5 separate regions of the Homo sapiens genome follow, and all the other regions are linked to region 1. Evidence: promoter capture Hi-C in human tissues and cell types (Jung and others, 2019). All regions are on one chromosome and are shown on one strand. The core of a region is centred on a gene start or on the middle of the fragment in contact, and the rest is flanking DNA. Distances in the headings are between cores, read along the strand shown. Region 1 holds the start of DALRD3 (DALR anticodon binding domain containing 3). Region 2 overlaps IP6K1 (inositol hexakisphosphate kinase 1). Region 3 overlaps IP6K1 (inositol hexakisphosphate kinase 1). Region 4 holds the start of MST1 (macrophage stimulating 1). Region 5 holds the start of BSN (bassoon presynaptic cytomatrix protein).

Evidence for each region. The method cuts DNA at HindIII sites, captures the fragments that hold promoters and counts their contacts. A contact is called where the count stands out against the background at its distance.
Region 2: a fragment that was not itself captured here is called in contact with the fragment with the promoter of DALRD3 in region 1 in 1 of the 25 tissues and cell types used here (pancreas).
Region 3: a contact is called between a fragment that was not itself captured here and the fragment with the promoter of DALRD3 in region 1, in 1 of the 25 tissues and cell types used here (spleen).
Region 4: the fragment with the promoter of MST1 here is called in contact with the fragment with the promoter of DALRD3 in region 1 in 1 of the 25 tissues and cell types used here (heart right ventricle).
Region 5: a contact is called between the fragment with the promoter of BSN here and the fragment with the promoter of DALRD3 in region 1, in 1 of the 25 tissues and cell types used here (dorsolateral prefrontal cortex).

What each region holds. Positions count from the first base shown.
Region 1 is chr3:49,017,061-49,019,973 of GRCh38, reverse strand. It overlaps DALRD3 (DALR anticodon binding domain containing 3), which reads left to right and starts at 1,394. Exons shown (of 12, transcript NM_001009996.3): 1 at 1,394-1,574; 2 at 1,656-1,951; 3 at 2,105-2,361; 4 at 2,461-2,540; 5 at 2,618-2,746. The coding sequence starts at 1,410. RefSeq lists a silencer at 2,164-2,398 and enhancers at 1,847-2,618, 2,904-2,913. The HindIII fragment of the contact is 18,150 bases long and covers 1-2,913 here.
Region 2 is chr3:49,767,042-49,769,954 of GRCh38, reverse strand. All of the region lies in intron 1 of IP6K1 (inositol hexakisphosphate kinase 1), which reads left to right. Among named protein-coding and RNA genes, the nearest start is that of IP6K1, 18 kb to the left of the region's middle. The HindIII fragment of the contact is 9,567 bases long and covers 1-2,913 here.
Region 3 is chr3:49,730,358-49,733,270 of GRCh38, reverse strand. It overlaps IP6K1 (inositol hexakisphosphate kinase 1), which reads left to right. Exons shown (of 6, transcript NM_153273.4): 4 at 299-480. Among named protein-coding and RNA genes, the nearest start is that of GMPPB, 7.9 kb to the right of the region's middle. The HindIII fragment of the contact is 4,827 bases long and covers 1-2,913 here.
Region 4 is chr3:49,688,120-49,691,032 of GRCh38, reverse strand. MST1 (macrophage stimulating 1) reads left to right here and starts at 1,559. Exons shown (of 18, transcript NM_020998.4): 1 at 1,559-2,435. The coding sequence starts at 2,342. RNF123 (ring finger protein 123) reads right to left here and starts at 1,476. Exons shown (of 39, transcript NM_022064.5): 1 at 1,427-1,476. RefSeq lists an enhancer at 1,646-2,205. The HindIII fragment of the contact is 11,098 bases long and covers 1-2,913 here.
Region 5 is chr3:49,552,919-49,555,831 of GRCh38, reverse strand. It overlaps BSN (bassoon presynaptic cytomatrix protein), which reads right to left and starts at 1,355. Exons shown (of 12, transcript NM_003458.4): 1 at 1,006-1,355. The coding sequence starts at 1,229. It overlaps BSN-DT (BSN divergent transcript), which reads left to right and starts at 1,466. Exons shown (of 3, transcript NR_038866.1): 1 at 1,466-1,791; 2 at 2,145-2,284. RefSeq lists silencers at 968-1,177, 1,248-1,547. The HindIII fragment of the contact is 7,009 bases long and covers 1-2,913 here.

The sequences.
Region 1 (2,913 bases), core at 145-2,644:
TTTGGGAACCTTTGTGGGAGAAAGAAAAAGACCTTTCCTATTGGTAGAGGAGCAAGATACTCCAACTGAGGCCTATTTTCTATTATGGTCGCATTATTTGGTTGGCCCGTAAATGGCTGTTGCCTAAAACAGGAAGCTTTAAGGATCGTTGTTAAAGCACACCAGGTTAAAGGAGTCACATTAAAAGCTGGTCATTCTGAGCCGGGCGCGGTGGCTCACGCCTGTAATCCCAGCACTTTGGGAGGCCGAGGCAGGCGGATCACCTGAGGTCGGGAGTTCGAGGCTTGACAAACATGGAGAAACCCCGTCTCTATTAAAAATACAAAAGTAGCCGGGCGTGGTGGCGCGTGCCTGTAATCCCAGCTACTTGGGAGACTGAGGCAGGATAATCACTTGAACCCGGGAGGGGGAGGTTGCGGTGAGCCAAGATCACACCACTGTACTCCAGCCTGGGCAACAGGAGCGAAACTCCGTCTCAAAAAAAAAAAAAAAAAGTCTGGTAATTCTGGAAGCCATCATGATGGTTGTGATTTCTCAGGTATCAAGAGAAGAAAACCGCCAACTGTATCAGAGTGCTTATTTATTGGGCATAAAGACCACCCGGGCTGGGTGCAGTGGCTGATGCCTGTAATCCCAGCACTTTCGGAGGCCGAGGCGGGCAGGTCACGAGGTCAGGAGTTCGAGACCAGCCTGGCCAACATGGCGAAACCCCGTCTCTACTAAAAATACAAAAATTAGCCGGGCGTGGTGGCGGGCGCCCGTAATCCCAGCTACTCGGGAGGCTGAGGAGGAGAATCCTGTGAATCCGGGAGGTGGAGGCTGCAGTGAGCCGAGATCGTGCCACTGCACTCCAGCCTGGGAGACAAGAGCAAGACTCCGTCTCAAACAAACAAAAAAACACCCATATCTCAAACGAGAAAATGCTTGCAAATAACCTGAAACCGCGGAACACTATTCTTTTTAAAACGAGATATTTTAAGTAGGTCGTGAAAGTGGCCTTAATGTTATACTGCCTTATTCCAGTGACGAATATTCATCATGTGTAAAATGGGAGAAATGAAATGTTATTAAAACAAACATGTGAGACTTCGATGAGAAGAGACGGTACCCGGTCTAAGCGCCCACCGGGTCGCGAGGATCCTTTTCCTGGTTAAGGCCTGGGTCACAGCGAAAGAACCCTAGGCCCAGGGAGGGCCCCGAGATTTCAGATCCGGGGCCCGGCTGTGCAGGTGGACCACGCGGAAGGGGCGCTGGGGGCGGTAGGTCGAAAGCAGCCGACAGGGCTACCACTGGCGCACCTGTCCACTTACGGGGACCACCGCCGCATCCCCGCCCCAGCTAGTCGGTCCTTTCCGGAAGTTCCACCTCCCTAAATTTTTTTCCGGTTCCGCTTACTCCTTCCGGTCACCATGGCGACCAGGCGCCTTGGGGTCGGGGAGACGCTGGGGGCCCTCAACGCGGCCCTGGGGCCAGGCGGTCCGGTGTGGATCAAGGAGACGCGCACCCGCCACCTGCGTTCCCGAGACTTTCTGGCACCGCACCGCGCGCTGCAGGCGCGCTTCGATGACGGCCAGGTGGGCGTGAGCCGGGCGGGGCCGTGCGGCCGGGAGATGGGCCCCGTGCCGTGGCTCTTTTACACGCCCGTTCTCCCGCAGGTTCCGGAGCATTTGCTCCATGCCCTCGCCTGCCTGCAGGGCCCCGGTGTGGCCCCGGTGCTGCGCTGCGCGCCGACCCCCGCGGGTCTGTCTCTCCAACTGCAGCGGTCCGCCGTCTTCGAGCGCGTCCTCAGCGCCGTGGCCGCCTATGCCACGCCCGCCTCGCCTGCCTCGCTGGGCCAGCGCGTCTTACTACACTGCCCAGCACTGCGCAGCTCCCCCTGCGCACTCCGCTTGAGCCAGCTGCGTACGGTGCTCGTGGCCGATCACCTGGCGCGAGCCCTGCGCGCTCACGGGTGAGCGGGGCCGCGGGGCCGGAATGGAGAAAGTGGGACTGCCGGGTACCTAGAAAGCGAGCGGCGCCGCCCGTGGGGACTGCGGCTGGAGGTGGGAAGTCGTGGCGAGCTGGACCAGGTGCTCAGACTGAGGCGGCCGCCCTCCCTTCGCAGGGTGTGCGTGCGCCTAGTGCCAGCTGTGCGGGATCCGCACATGCTGACCTTCCTGCAGCAACTGCGGGTGGACTGGCCCGCTGCCTCGGAGAGAGCTTCCTCCCACACCCTGAGGAGCCACGCCCTTGAAGAACTTACCTCTGCTAATGACGGGAGGACACTGTCCCCTGGCATCCTAGGCAGACTGTGTCTGAAGGAGCTGGTGGAAGAACAGGGCCGCACAGCTGGCTATGACCCCAACCTGGACAACTGTCTGGGTAGGACCTGAAGCCTAGCAGGGCCAGAAAAGGCAGGAGGGGGTTAGGGGCACATCTCTGCTTCTTGTCAGTCTCAGCACCTGTCTGTTCTCTTTTCAGTGACTGAGGATCTCCTCTCTGTGCTGGCTGAGCTGCAAGAGGCTCTATGGCATTGGCCCGAGGACAGCCACCCAGGCCTGGTTAGTGACTCCCAGCCCTGTAGGTTCTCCCAAACCAAGTATACTGTACTTCCACAGTTATGATTGTCCTCCCTTAGGCTGGGGCCTCAGATACTGGTACAGGCGGCTGCCTGGTTGTACATGTTGTTAGCTGTGAGGAGGAGTTCCAGCAACAGAAGTTGGACCTGCTTTGGCAGAAGTTGGTTGACAAGGCTCCACTCAGACAGGTAGGTTAATAATGATGGTGGAGCTCCCCACCACCTAACCCCCAACCTCAGAGGGCCCTTGAAAACCCACCGAGGGGCTTGTTAGCTGACAGAAACCAACACTTGACCTTGGGGGAGTTGCTGGACTTGAGAGGGCATGTACAGCAGGTGCAGAGGCTCTGGGGAAG
Region 2 (2,913 bases), core at 120-2,619, 750 kb before region 1:
GGCCTGAGCCACCATGCTTGGCTTAGAGGATCTGTTTTCAAGATGACTTATTCATAAAGCTCTTTGCAGGAAGCCTCAGTTCCATATTGTTTATCTCTACCCAGGGCTTTTGTTTGTTTGTTTTTAAATTTTCCCTACTTTAAAGCTAACAAGTTATACACAGGGCTCTTTGAGTTTCCTCATGGCGTGCAGTTATCTCCTACAGAAATGATCTAAGACAAAGTAAGGAAGAAACCATGAAGCCTCTTATGACCTAGTCATACACTGTCACTTCTGCCATATTCTTTTCATTAGAATGAGTCCCTAAGTCTAGCCTGTACTCAAGGAGAGAGGAGGATTTCACTTTTTAGAGGGAAGAATGTAAAAAAATTTGACATAGTTTAAAACTACCAAAATTTTCTCTCCCCATTGGTTTGCTTTGGTACTTTTGTCGAAAAACAATTGACTGTTATATCCTGATTTGTCGCTGGCAAAAATCCCAAAAACAATTGACTCTGTAGATATGGGCCTGTTTGTGAAATCTGTGTTCTGTTCCATTGATCTATTTGTTTATCCATATGCCAGTACCCCACTACTGTAGCTTTATAGGAAGTCTTGACATGAGGCAGTGTAAATAACCCAACTTTATTGTTTATCAAGATTTATTTGAATATTACAGTTTCTTTTTATTACCATATAAATTTTAGAATTAGCTTGTCAATTTCTGTAAAAAAGTCTCCTGCCATTATGGTTGAGATTCCACTGAATTTATAGATTCATTTGGGGAGAATTGACATCTTAACTATATTGAGCCTTCTAATCCATGTGCTGTGTGAGGCATATTTCTTGATTTATGCCTTCTTTACTATCTTGCTACATTATTTCATTGTTTTTAATGTAGAATTCTTTCACGTTTTGTTAAATTTGACCCAAGACATTTGATTTTTTTGATGCTATTGTAAATGAAATTTTTAAATTGTAGTAAATATACATGAGAAAATGTAGAATTTTAACTATTTTGAAGGGTATGATGCAGTGGCATTAAATACATTCACAATGATGTTTTGAGAACTACTTTCATCATCCCAAATAGGAACTCTCCCCATTATATAGTAACACCCCATTCTCACCTCCCCCAGCCCCTTGTACGTTCTTAATAATCTTTTTGTCTCAATGAATTCGCCTATTTTATTTTATTTTATTTTTGAGACTCAGTCTCACTCTGTCACCGAGGCTGGAGTGCAGTGGCCCAGTCTTGGCTCACTGCAGCCTCCGCCTCCCAGGTTTAAGTGATTCTCCTGCCTCAGCCTCTCAAGTAGCTGGGATTACAGGTGCCCGCCACCACGGCCGGCTAATTTTTGTATTTTTGGTAAAGATGGGGTTTCACCATGTTGGCCAGGTTGATCTCGAACTCCTGACCTCAAGTGATCCACCTGCCTCAGCCTCCCAAAATGCTGGAATTACAGGCTTAAGCAACTGTGCCCAGCCCTGTTTTATTTTATGTAAGTGGAATTATAATTATATAATTTTTTCCCTTTTGTGCCTGGCTTATTTCACTTAGCAAAATGTTTTCAAGATTCATCCATGTTGTGACATGCATCAGAATTTCATTCCTTTTTAAGGCTGAATAATATTTCACTGTATGTATATACCGCATATCTTTATCCATTTATCTGTTGATGGACATGGGTCGTAGACACCATTTGGTTATTGTGAATAATGCTGTGAACATTGGTGTATAAATATCTGTTTTGGATTCCTCCTTTCAGTTCTTTTGGGTATAGACCTAAAAGTGGAATTGTTGAATCATATGGTAATTCTATGTTTAACTTTTTGAGGAATTGCCATACTGTCTTCTTTACATTCTCACCAGCAGTGCACAAGTGTTACAATTTCTTCATATCCTTGCCAACACTTATTTTCTATTTTTTTTTTTTTTTTATAACTTGGATGTGAAGTAGTTTCTCATTGTGGCTTTGATTTGCATTTCCCTAATGACTAATGAAGTTGAGCATCTTTTTGCATATTTTTTGGCCATTTGTAAATCTTCAGAGAAATGTCTAAGGCCTTTGCCCATTTATGAATTGGGTTATTTTTGTTGTTGTCGAGTTATACAAGTACTTTATATGTTCCATGTATTAATCCTTTATCAGATGTATGATCTGCAGATATTTTCTGCTATTCTGTGGGTGATGTTTTCACTCTTTTTAAATTAATTAATCGGTTTTTTAGAATAGAGATGGGATCTCACTATATTGCTCAGGGTGGTCTCAAACTCTTGGGCTTAAGTGATCCACCTGCATCAGCCTCCCAAAGTGTTGAGATTACAGGTATGAGCCACTGTACCCAGACTAATTTTATTTTTTTAAGTTGTTGTTATTATTATTATTATTTTTTGAGATGGAGTCTCACTCTGTCACCTAGCCTGGAGTGCAGTGGCGTGATCTCTGCTCACCACAGTTTCCGCCTCCCGGTTCAAGTGATTCTCCTGTTTTAGCCCCCCGAGTACCTGGGATTACAGGCACGTGCCACCACAACTGGCTACTTTTTTGTATTTTTAGTAGAGATGGGGTTTCACCATGTTAGCCAGGCTTGTCTTGAACCCCTGACCTCAGGTGATCTGCCCACCTCGGCCTCCCAAAGTGTTGGGATTACAGGCGTGAGCCACCGCGCCTGGCCAATTATTATTATTTTTTAAGAGATAGGGTCTCATCCTGTCACCCAGGCTGGAATGAGTGATATGAATGTAGCTCACTGCAGCCTCAAACTCCTGGGCTTGAGTGACTGCCTGCCTGCCTCAGCCTTCCAAGTAGCCGAGACTACTGGTATGAGCCAGTGCAACTCAGCTGATTTTTTAAAAATAAAAAAAAAAATTTTGTGGAGATGGGATCTTGTTAAGTTGCCCAGGCTGGTCTCAAACTGAGCTTAAGCAAT
Region 3 (2,913 bases), core at 244-2,743, 710 kb before region 1:
CCACTTTCTTCTTTGATTGTAGCCATCCTAATGGATGTGAAGTGGTATTTTCATCACATAATTTGACAAAAATGTTATTTTTCAGATAGTTTTAAGAGACATAAGATAGTTTTAAGAGACACAGGAAGAACACTACTCATAACATTTACTCATTTTTATTGGCTCATGGGACCTTAATGCAACCCATTAGCAGGGTCTGTGGGTCTGTCATTGTGGACAGATCTGTGCCCTGTGCAGCGGGACCCCAGAGGATGACTTGCCTGAGTTTCTTAGTGATGTGTATGTTCTTCCTTCTTAGCTCACAGGAGGCAAAGAGTCCGAAGGTGGAGCTGCACAGCCACTCAGAGGTCCCTTTCCAGATGCTAGATGGCAACAGTGGCTTGAGTTCTGAGAAGATCAGCCACAACCCCTGGAGCCTGCGTTGTCACAAGCAGCAGCTGAGCCGCATGCGCTCCGAGTCCAAGGACCGAAAGCTCTACAGTATCCTCGTTGCCCCTCCTTCAGGAGTGTCTACTGGGTCCATAGGTCGTGTGTTGGGGCACCATTCTGCCTATGGCTGAGGTCTTTGTCTAGGGTCCCTCTTCGGTTTAATCTCCCTTTTTCATGGACTCCTCTTCCTTCGTTTACTTTCATCAACATGTTTTTTTCCTGCCTTTTGGATTTGGTAAGGCCGAAGCTTAAAACTTGGCAGTCTAGAACAGTGTTGTCTGATAGAACTGTCTGTAATTCTGTGTGCTTTTCAGTATGGTAGCCACTGGCCACACTGAGTGGCTAAAATGTGGCTACTGTGACTAAGGCAGTTAATTTAAATTTTATTTTATTAATTAAAATTTAAATCATCACATGTGGCTAGTGTGGCTAGTGGTACTATATTGATCATGTCCACAATCACAGATCTGCGTATGTGCCCATATGCGCTTGTGTGCATGTGTGTAGTTTTCCCCTCCCAAGGGATTAATAGTTTAAAGGTGATATATTTGACTTTGGTGAGATTTTTATCTGATGATAAACACCATAAAATAGATTTAAAATGTTAAAGATAGCTGGGCGTGGTGGGTCACACCTGTAATCCCAGCACTTTGGGAGGCTGAGGCAGGAGGATCACTTGAGACCAGGTGTTTGAAACCAGCCTGAGCAACATAGTGAGACTTCATCTCTACAAAAAATAAAAAAATTAGTTGGATGTGGTGGTGTGTGCTTGTAGTAGTCCCAGCTCTGAGGTGGGAGGATTGCTTGAGCCCAGGAAGTCGAGACTGCAGTGGGCCATGATTGCACCACTACATTCTAGCTTCTAGCCTGGGCAACACAGCAAGACCCTGTCTCATCTCCAGAAAAGATAAAAAAGTATTATGGCATAGGAATTCCTTTTTTTTTTTTTTTTTTGAGACAGAGTCTCACTCTGTTACCCAGGCCAAAGTGCAGCGGTGCGATCTCGGCTCACTGCAACCTCCGCCTCCCGGGTTCAAGAGATTTTCATGCCTTAGCCACCCCAGTAGCTGGGATTACAGGCGTGCGCCACCACGCCCAGCCTAGAATGGGAATTCTTACAATTGTTAGTGTTTTGAAGTAGTAGACAAATAACAACTGGATTATTCTAAGAAACTGAGGGAAAGTGTGCTGAACCTTTTGTACGTAGTTAATTTTCACAGCAATCTTTTGAGGAAGGAACTCTCATCATTCCCATGTTATAGATGAGGAAGTGGAAGCACAGGGGGATTAAGTGTTGTGCCTAGAGGTAGTGAGTGGTCAAGGCAGGATTCCAGAGCCCATGCTTCCAGGGTGTTGAGATATTTCTGCAGCCTCCTCCATATTTTACCATCACATGTTTATAGGTAATAGCAGGCAACAGAATTGATTCAGGCCAAATTTAAAAGTTACTTTCAAAAGAATGAAATGTTCATCATCACAGTGATGCTGAGTGTCTATCTGCTAAGATGCGATTGCTCTGTAGCACCCAGAGATGGATTTGAGGGCTGGGCTGTGAAACCCAGTGACTTTGGCAGACATATGATAAGTCTGTACCTTTACACAAAAGTTCAAAGATAAGATTGTTGCAAATAGGATATATTGGAATGAAGACATGTATGTAAATGCCAGGGAGTTAGGACCATAGATCGTTTTGAGCAGAAGGTTATAGAACTATTAAGGGATAAATTTATATTTTATATATAAATATATTTATATATATAAATTTGAAACCAGTGAACGAGATCTCTCTCTCTCATTCACTGGTTTCAAATTGAGTGACAAATGGCAAGACAGAAATATAAATCCAGGCTCATTCCTGTAATCCCAGCACTTTGGGAGGCCGAGGCCGGCAGATCACCTGAGGTTGGGAGTTTGAGACCAGCCTGACCAACATGGAGAAACCCCGTCTGTACACAAAATTAGCCAGGTGTAGTGGTGCATGCCTGTAATCCTAGCTGCTCGGGAGGCTGAGACAGGAGAATCATTTGAACTCAAGAGGCGGAGGTTGCGATGAGCCAAGATTGCGCCATTGCACTCCAGCCTAGGCAACAAGAGTGAAACTCCATCTCAAAAAAAAAAATACAAAAAATTAGTCGGGCATGGTGGCATGCGCCTATAGTTCCAGCTACTTGGGAGGCTAAGGCAGGAGGATCACTTGAACCTGGGAGGCAGAGGTTGCAGTGAGCTGAAATTGTGCTACTGCACTCCAGCCTGGGCAAAGGAGCAAGACTGCATCCTAAAAAAAAAGAAAAGAAATGTAAATCCAGCTTTTTCTAAAGATTCCTATTTGGGAATGTTAGAATCTGGTTTCCTTGTTTTTGTAGTAGTGCTACCAAGATGTCTTCCTTATTTCTTAGGCCTGGGCAAGGTGCTGGCTTGAGTAGGGCCTTGGTTCACTGATGGTGAGGGATGTATCCAAATCTTTAGTTTGCATATTGCCTGCAA
Region 4 (2,913 bases), core at 310-2,809, 670 kb before region 1:
GCCAGGGGCATGCACACTAACACATAGGGCAGGGGAATGCAGGGGCTCCCAGCTTCCTACACAGGGAGGGTAGCCAGGGTCTAGGCCCATGTAACAGGGACCACTTCTTGTTCTCCAGTGTCCCTGTGCCCAGCACAGGGCTGGGCAGAGAGCAGGTACTAGATATATTTTTGCCGAACCATAACAAAATGTCTCAGCTCTGTGGAAATCAGACCAAAATGTCCAAAGTGAGGTGTCCTAGGGGCAGAGCCCCTGTATCCATCTCAGTTGTAAGCCATACTGAGTCCAGCTCACAACCAGAAGCGACAATCCTACACATTCCCCCAAGTGCAGACCACCACTGGTCTGGTCATCTCTAGCCATAAGTCCCACTTACTCCCCACAAGGCTGGAGCCTCTTTCCTCAGCCCTGGGTTCCTCCCTTCTTTTATCCATGGTCCTGATAGTTTCACCATTCCCACTCACACATGTGGCCTCCCACCTCATCCAAGCACCACCCTTGCCCAGCCCTCATGGCAAACTCCATTGGTCCTCCTAGTGCATCTATCCCTCACATCATGTTGCTGCTGCAGCTGCTCCAGAACCTGCACTGAGTCCCTGGTGCTGGCCTCACTGATGTGTAGCGGTGCTGTCCAACACAGCAGCCGTCATCCACATGAGGTTACTTAAATTTAAAGTTTTAAAAATTAACAATTCGATTTCTCAGTTGCCTTAGCCACATTTCAAGAGTTCAATGACCACATGTGGCTAATGGTTACTCTGTTGGACAGCACAAAGGTAGAACGTTCCCACCATCATATAAAGTTCTATTAGACAGCGCAGGTCTAGAGTTTCGCTCTGCAGCACTGCCTTAGCCAGCACTCCCTACTCTGCAGTTCAGTCTCTTATCTCACCCCAAACAGACCCTCTACTCCCGCCACAAACCCTTGTGGGTCTGCACCACGCCTGCTCCTCGGGAAGGTGATTTTCCCGACCTCGGGCCCTCGGTGGGCGTCCATGATCGGTGCCCCTTCACTACCAGAGTAGTTGAAGATCTGATTAAACTCAGTCATTCATTTGATGAGCAGACCTTCCAGACACCCGGAGTGGGCTCCGGGAGTCAGTTGCTGAGGACCCAGGTGAGAGGCGGACCTTGTCCCCGCCCGGGGACTCCCTGTCACGGCTATCCCGTCCAACCCCGCCGGGGTATCCGGACTCAGAACTGAACCTACTCCGTCTGGGAGCCCAAGGACGGCGAGGGCGGCGCATGGCTCCCCCAAGTCGCCCCCGCCTGGCCCCAAGCTCCACAGGACCTGCCAGACCAGCTTCCGCTCGGAGTTTCGCACCCAGATCCCTGCGCTGCAGGTGCCCTCGCACTGGACTAGCCCGGACCGCGAAGGGAATAGCCGGAACCCGCCAGGCTCAGAGCCCTGCCGCCCCTCACTCACCCGGAGCCTCGGCCGCAGCGACCCGGCTCACAACATCCGCCCAACCTCTTGGCTACGGCGTCCGTTCAGGGCCAAATCACGCGCACGCTTGCGCGCTGAGCCTCCAGCCGCGCACGCGCACTGGCCCGCGCCCAGCCTCCGCTAGGGGACCCCCTCCATGGCTTCCCACCGGGTTGTTCCAGGCCTCAGCTTCGCCGAAAGGCCTCACCACCTCCGACCTCCGCCTGCTCTGGGGATGCTCCCAGCCCTGCTGCGGCAGAACGCGACATGCTAACCGGAATCCCTAGGCCGCCTGTCTCCTACCCATACTTAGAGGCCCCGCTCAGACGGTCCTTAAAACGTCTGAAAGGCCGTTCCTGCCAGAGTCCCTGCTACCTGTTACCTCCACCCCTATTTAGTCCTAGTGGACAGCCTCGCTCACCTTCCCTGGGATGACACTTCTGGCGGCTGAGATGAGCGAGCCTCTCTGGGCTCTGCCGCCGGGTGTGGGCTGACCTGCCTACAGCTGGGGCCTGATAAGGCAGCAGCAAAAGGGTGGAGGGGAGGCAGTGTTGAAGCTGGGGCAAGTAATTTTCCCCAATTTACAGGGAAAAACCGAAATTCAGAAAAGTTTAATGTCACCCAGGGGCTGGAGCCCAGACCTCTGGCAGCTCTCACTTTCACAATGCCCTTGGGCTGACTAGGCTGCAGAGGGGTTTCACCCCAACCCCAGGGCACCTCAAGTGTCCCCACCAAACCTTCCTAACACCTGTCCACTAAGCTGTACTAGGCCCTTGCAACTGACCTATGGGACCTGAGGCCTGGCCCCTCATGGCTCCTGTCACCAGGTCTCAGGTCAGGGTCCAGCAGGCCCTGAGCTGACGTGTGGAGCCAGAGCCACCCAATCCCGTAGGGACAGGTTTCACAACTTCCCGGATGGGGCTGTGGTGGGTCACAGTGCAGCCTCCAGCCAGAAGGATGGGGTGGCTCCCACTCCTGCTGCTTCTGACTCAATGCTTAGGGGTCCCTGGTAAGTGCCCCCAACCCTGATCCCCATCTGCCTTCAGGAGGGGGTTGGCCCCATTCTCCTATTCTAGGATGAGAAAAAAGTCGGGGAGCCAGAGGCTCAGTGGGCATGGGGCAGTGACCTTGCCCTCTTGAGCACAGCTGGGAAGCCCTAGGAACACATAGACATTGCCCACTTAGGCCTCTATTAGCACGTCTGCTCTAGCACTGAAGCAGTGTCAGGACCACACAGATGCACGCACACAGCAGGCAGTGACCCCTCCTGAGCCTGATCTACCCCTCTAACCTAGCATATGCCTTTGTGCAGGTGAGAGCCCAGATTTGGAGTCTGAATGCCTAGCCAGGGCCCCTGGCTGGGTAATGTGATGGCTCTGAGCCTTAGCATTCTCATTTGAGAGATGAGGTGGGGCAAGCTTCATCACCCACTGCTCTCACAGAGCGTATGTGTTAGATCTGAGCCCGGTGCCTGGGCCACTAAACAG
Region 5 (2,913 bases), core at 106-2,605, 540 kb before region 1:
ATCAGCAGACCCACATGGAGCTGGAAGCACCTCCCTCCCACCCCCTGGGGGTTTTGCTACTCCCCAAGCCTATTTGGTGCAAAGATAATGCCTTCCATTTTATCGTGTCATCTCTTAGTAGTTTTCCTGAGTTTTCAGTCTACTGACTTATTATATATTGGCATTCCCTTACAGCCTTCATTGCCACTTGACTGTTTTTGCAGGACCTGGGTTGGCATACATTTAAAACAAACTGGTTTCACAGTATTTAATCAGATATGTTCTGTTTAAAGCATTCTGTGTGGGTTTCAGCTTTTCCACTGGTTTGATCTAAATCATAAGGTAACGAGAACATATCTGGTGCTGGATGACTCAATAGCATTTTTGCTTCACCCCAAAATGTTTCCCTAAACCTTGGTGAAAGCACATGATCCTATTAGTATTGTTGGGCCTAAATAAGCACCTCTTGGTGTCCAGTGGGCAATTTTCCTTTCCCCCAAAGGTGATTACAGCCACTAAATGCCCAAGGAAAGCCCAAGACCAAGTTCATGGTTCAACTATTTTCATCTCTCTGTTCCTCGCAGTGACACTTATCTTCCCTGACAGCCACTCCCATTGTGCTGTTTTCTCGGCCCAGCACAATGGACACATGCAGACACCAGCAGACAGGGAGGACGTTTTCCATCCCATTGCTCTCCTGTGCGGAGGGACCAGGTTAAGGTTACATAAGCCCCTCCTGAGCAGTCAGGCCCGAGCGTTGGGGAGAAGCGAATTTGGGGTTCGTGACGGAGTCACGGTCTGCAGGCCCCGACTGACCCTGCGCTCGTCATCCTGCCACGCCAAGGCGGGGCAGCTGGAAAGGAAGGGCCGCTTCCCGCGACCACCCAGTTCACGCCAATCCGGCAGGGTTCAGAGTGCGGCCGGACGTCGAACCTCGCTGTCCACACTAGATCGCGGGATCCTGGGCCCGGGTCCCGGCCTCAGGCTGCAGCTCACCGCCCCCCGGGCGCCGAGACACGCGCTTACCTGCCCGGGCCAGGGCCGGGACCGGGGCCGGGGCCGGGGCCAGGGACCGGTGGTACCGCGGTCGACCGCGCTGCTCCCGCCGCGGGGAGCTGTCCGCCACCGGCCGGTGCTGAAGGCGGCTTTCCTGCGCCGGGGCCGGGGCCGGGGCCCGGGCCGGGGCCGGCGCCGCCGGGCGGCAGCGGCCCGTCGCCAGCGCCGCCCTCCAGGCTGACCTCGTTGCCCATGGCGGGCAGGCGGGCGGGCGGGGTCGGGGTCGCGCTGCGCCCGGGCCGGCGGCTCCCGGGCGGTGCTCACACTCTCGGCGCCGCCGCTGCCGCCGCCATCTCCCAGCTCGGCTCGCGCCGCCGCCTGCCGCTGCGCATGCGCGTCTCGCGCCCCCTTCCCTGCACACGCCCCCCTTCCCCTGTGCGCGCTCCCGCCAGCCTCGGGGTCGCTGGGAAACAGCCGCCGGCGCCCGCGCATGCGCTGTCCAGGGCCGACGCGGTTGTATCATGCTGAGAAGGAGCCGGGCGGGGGCCGGCGGGGCTGCGAGGGCCCTGTGAGGAGGGGCACCTGCCACTAGAAGCGGCCTCTGGGACGTCGCGCTGAGCCCTGCTTTGGAGTCAGAGGGGCTTTCCGCCTCGGTGAACTCGAGAGTAGCAACTCTCCTCCGGGTAACCGGAGTGCCACAGCGGGCAGGCGTCATAAGGACAGGCCTCGGAGAGGAGAGGGGCTACCCGAGAATGGCCTCAAAAGTATGCATAGGAGTTGGGAAGGCAGAGGAACAAGTGTATTCAGAGACGCAAGGTCGTAGAGGGAAGGAGAGGGAGGGTGCTGGGTGGTCGGGCCGGATTGTGAGGGTCTTTAAGGCCAGCTGGGGAGTGGAGCCTTTATCCAGATGGCGATGGGAACCATCTGGGATTCACACTGAGGAACTGGGAGTCTCAGGAAGCGCCCCGGGCACAGATGGAAGGTGTGACAGGGCTGTGTGAAGCCAGCTGGGAGGCCACCTCAGTCAGCCCTGGGAGAGTGACCTTGGGGATGGAAAAGAGGACTTGATGGTTCTCAGGCCTGGAGCTGTCTCGATGCGGGGCCGCAGGTTGCCTCTGCATTACCCTGAGAGCTTTCCAAATTACTTCCCCGCTCCCTCACATTTACAGCCGGTTTCTGCCCGCTACTCAGGATTGTCTGCCGTGGTGGCTTCTCACACAAGCCTGTACTTTCCTGTGGGAGAATATTTCCTAGGAGCCTATATTCCAGTTCATCTCTGACGTCATAAATCATGACTGTGTAGAAAGGCGTGAGTAACTTGAACCCATTTTACAAACCCATTCAATTCTCCTAATGTTGCGAAATATATCACATAGGGTGTTAGCAGTTCTAACTGAACCTAGAATAATCCAGGGATCCCAGTGAATGCTGATAGCCAGCCTGCTGGACAGACCGGTGGCTGTGTCAGTTCTTGTGAGGAGGGGCCAGGACCCTCCCTGGGCCTTCCCCTGTGCACTCCGAGCTGCTCCTCCCGACCTCTGGGATGGAGCAAGTAAGAGAAAGAGGAAATGCAGAGCCCCCACTTCCTGATATTTTCTCCTGACTTCATACCTCCCGTTTTCACGCTAAACTGCCTGGCCCCTCTGGGATGACCTAGGATGAAGAGAGCCTCTCTTCCTGCAGATGATGGTCCTTGCTGTGTTTCCTCCTGTGCTGCAGGATGTTTGATACAGCTTCGTGAGTGGTGACTACATGTGCACATTTAGGCTCCAAAAGAGTCTGCACCTCAGCCCCGATAGGACCCTTGGCAACTGACTTAGGCTCACTGAGCCTCCATTTCCTATTCTGCAAAGTTAGAATCTTAGTAGCTCCTCGAATATGGGGGATTGTAAGGGTAGAGTGGCTGATGTAGATATTTTATTTTTTATTCATTTTATT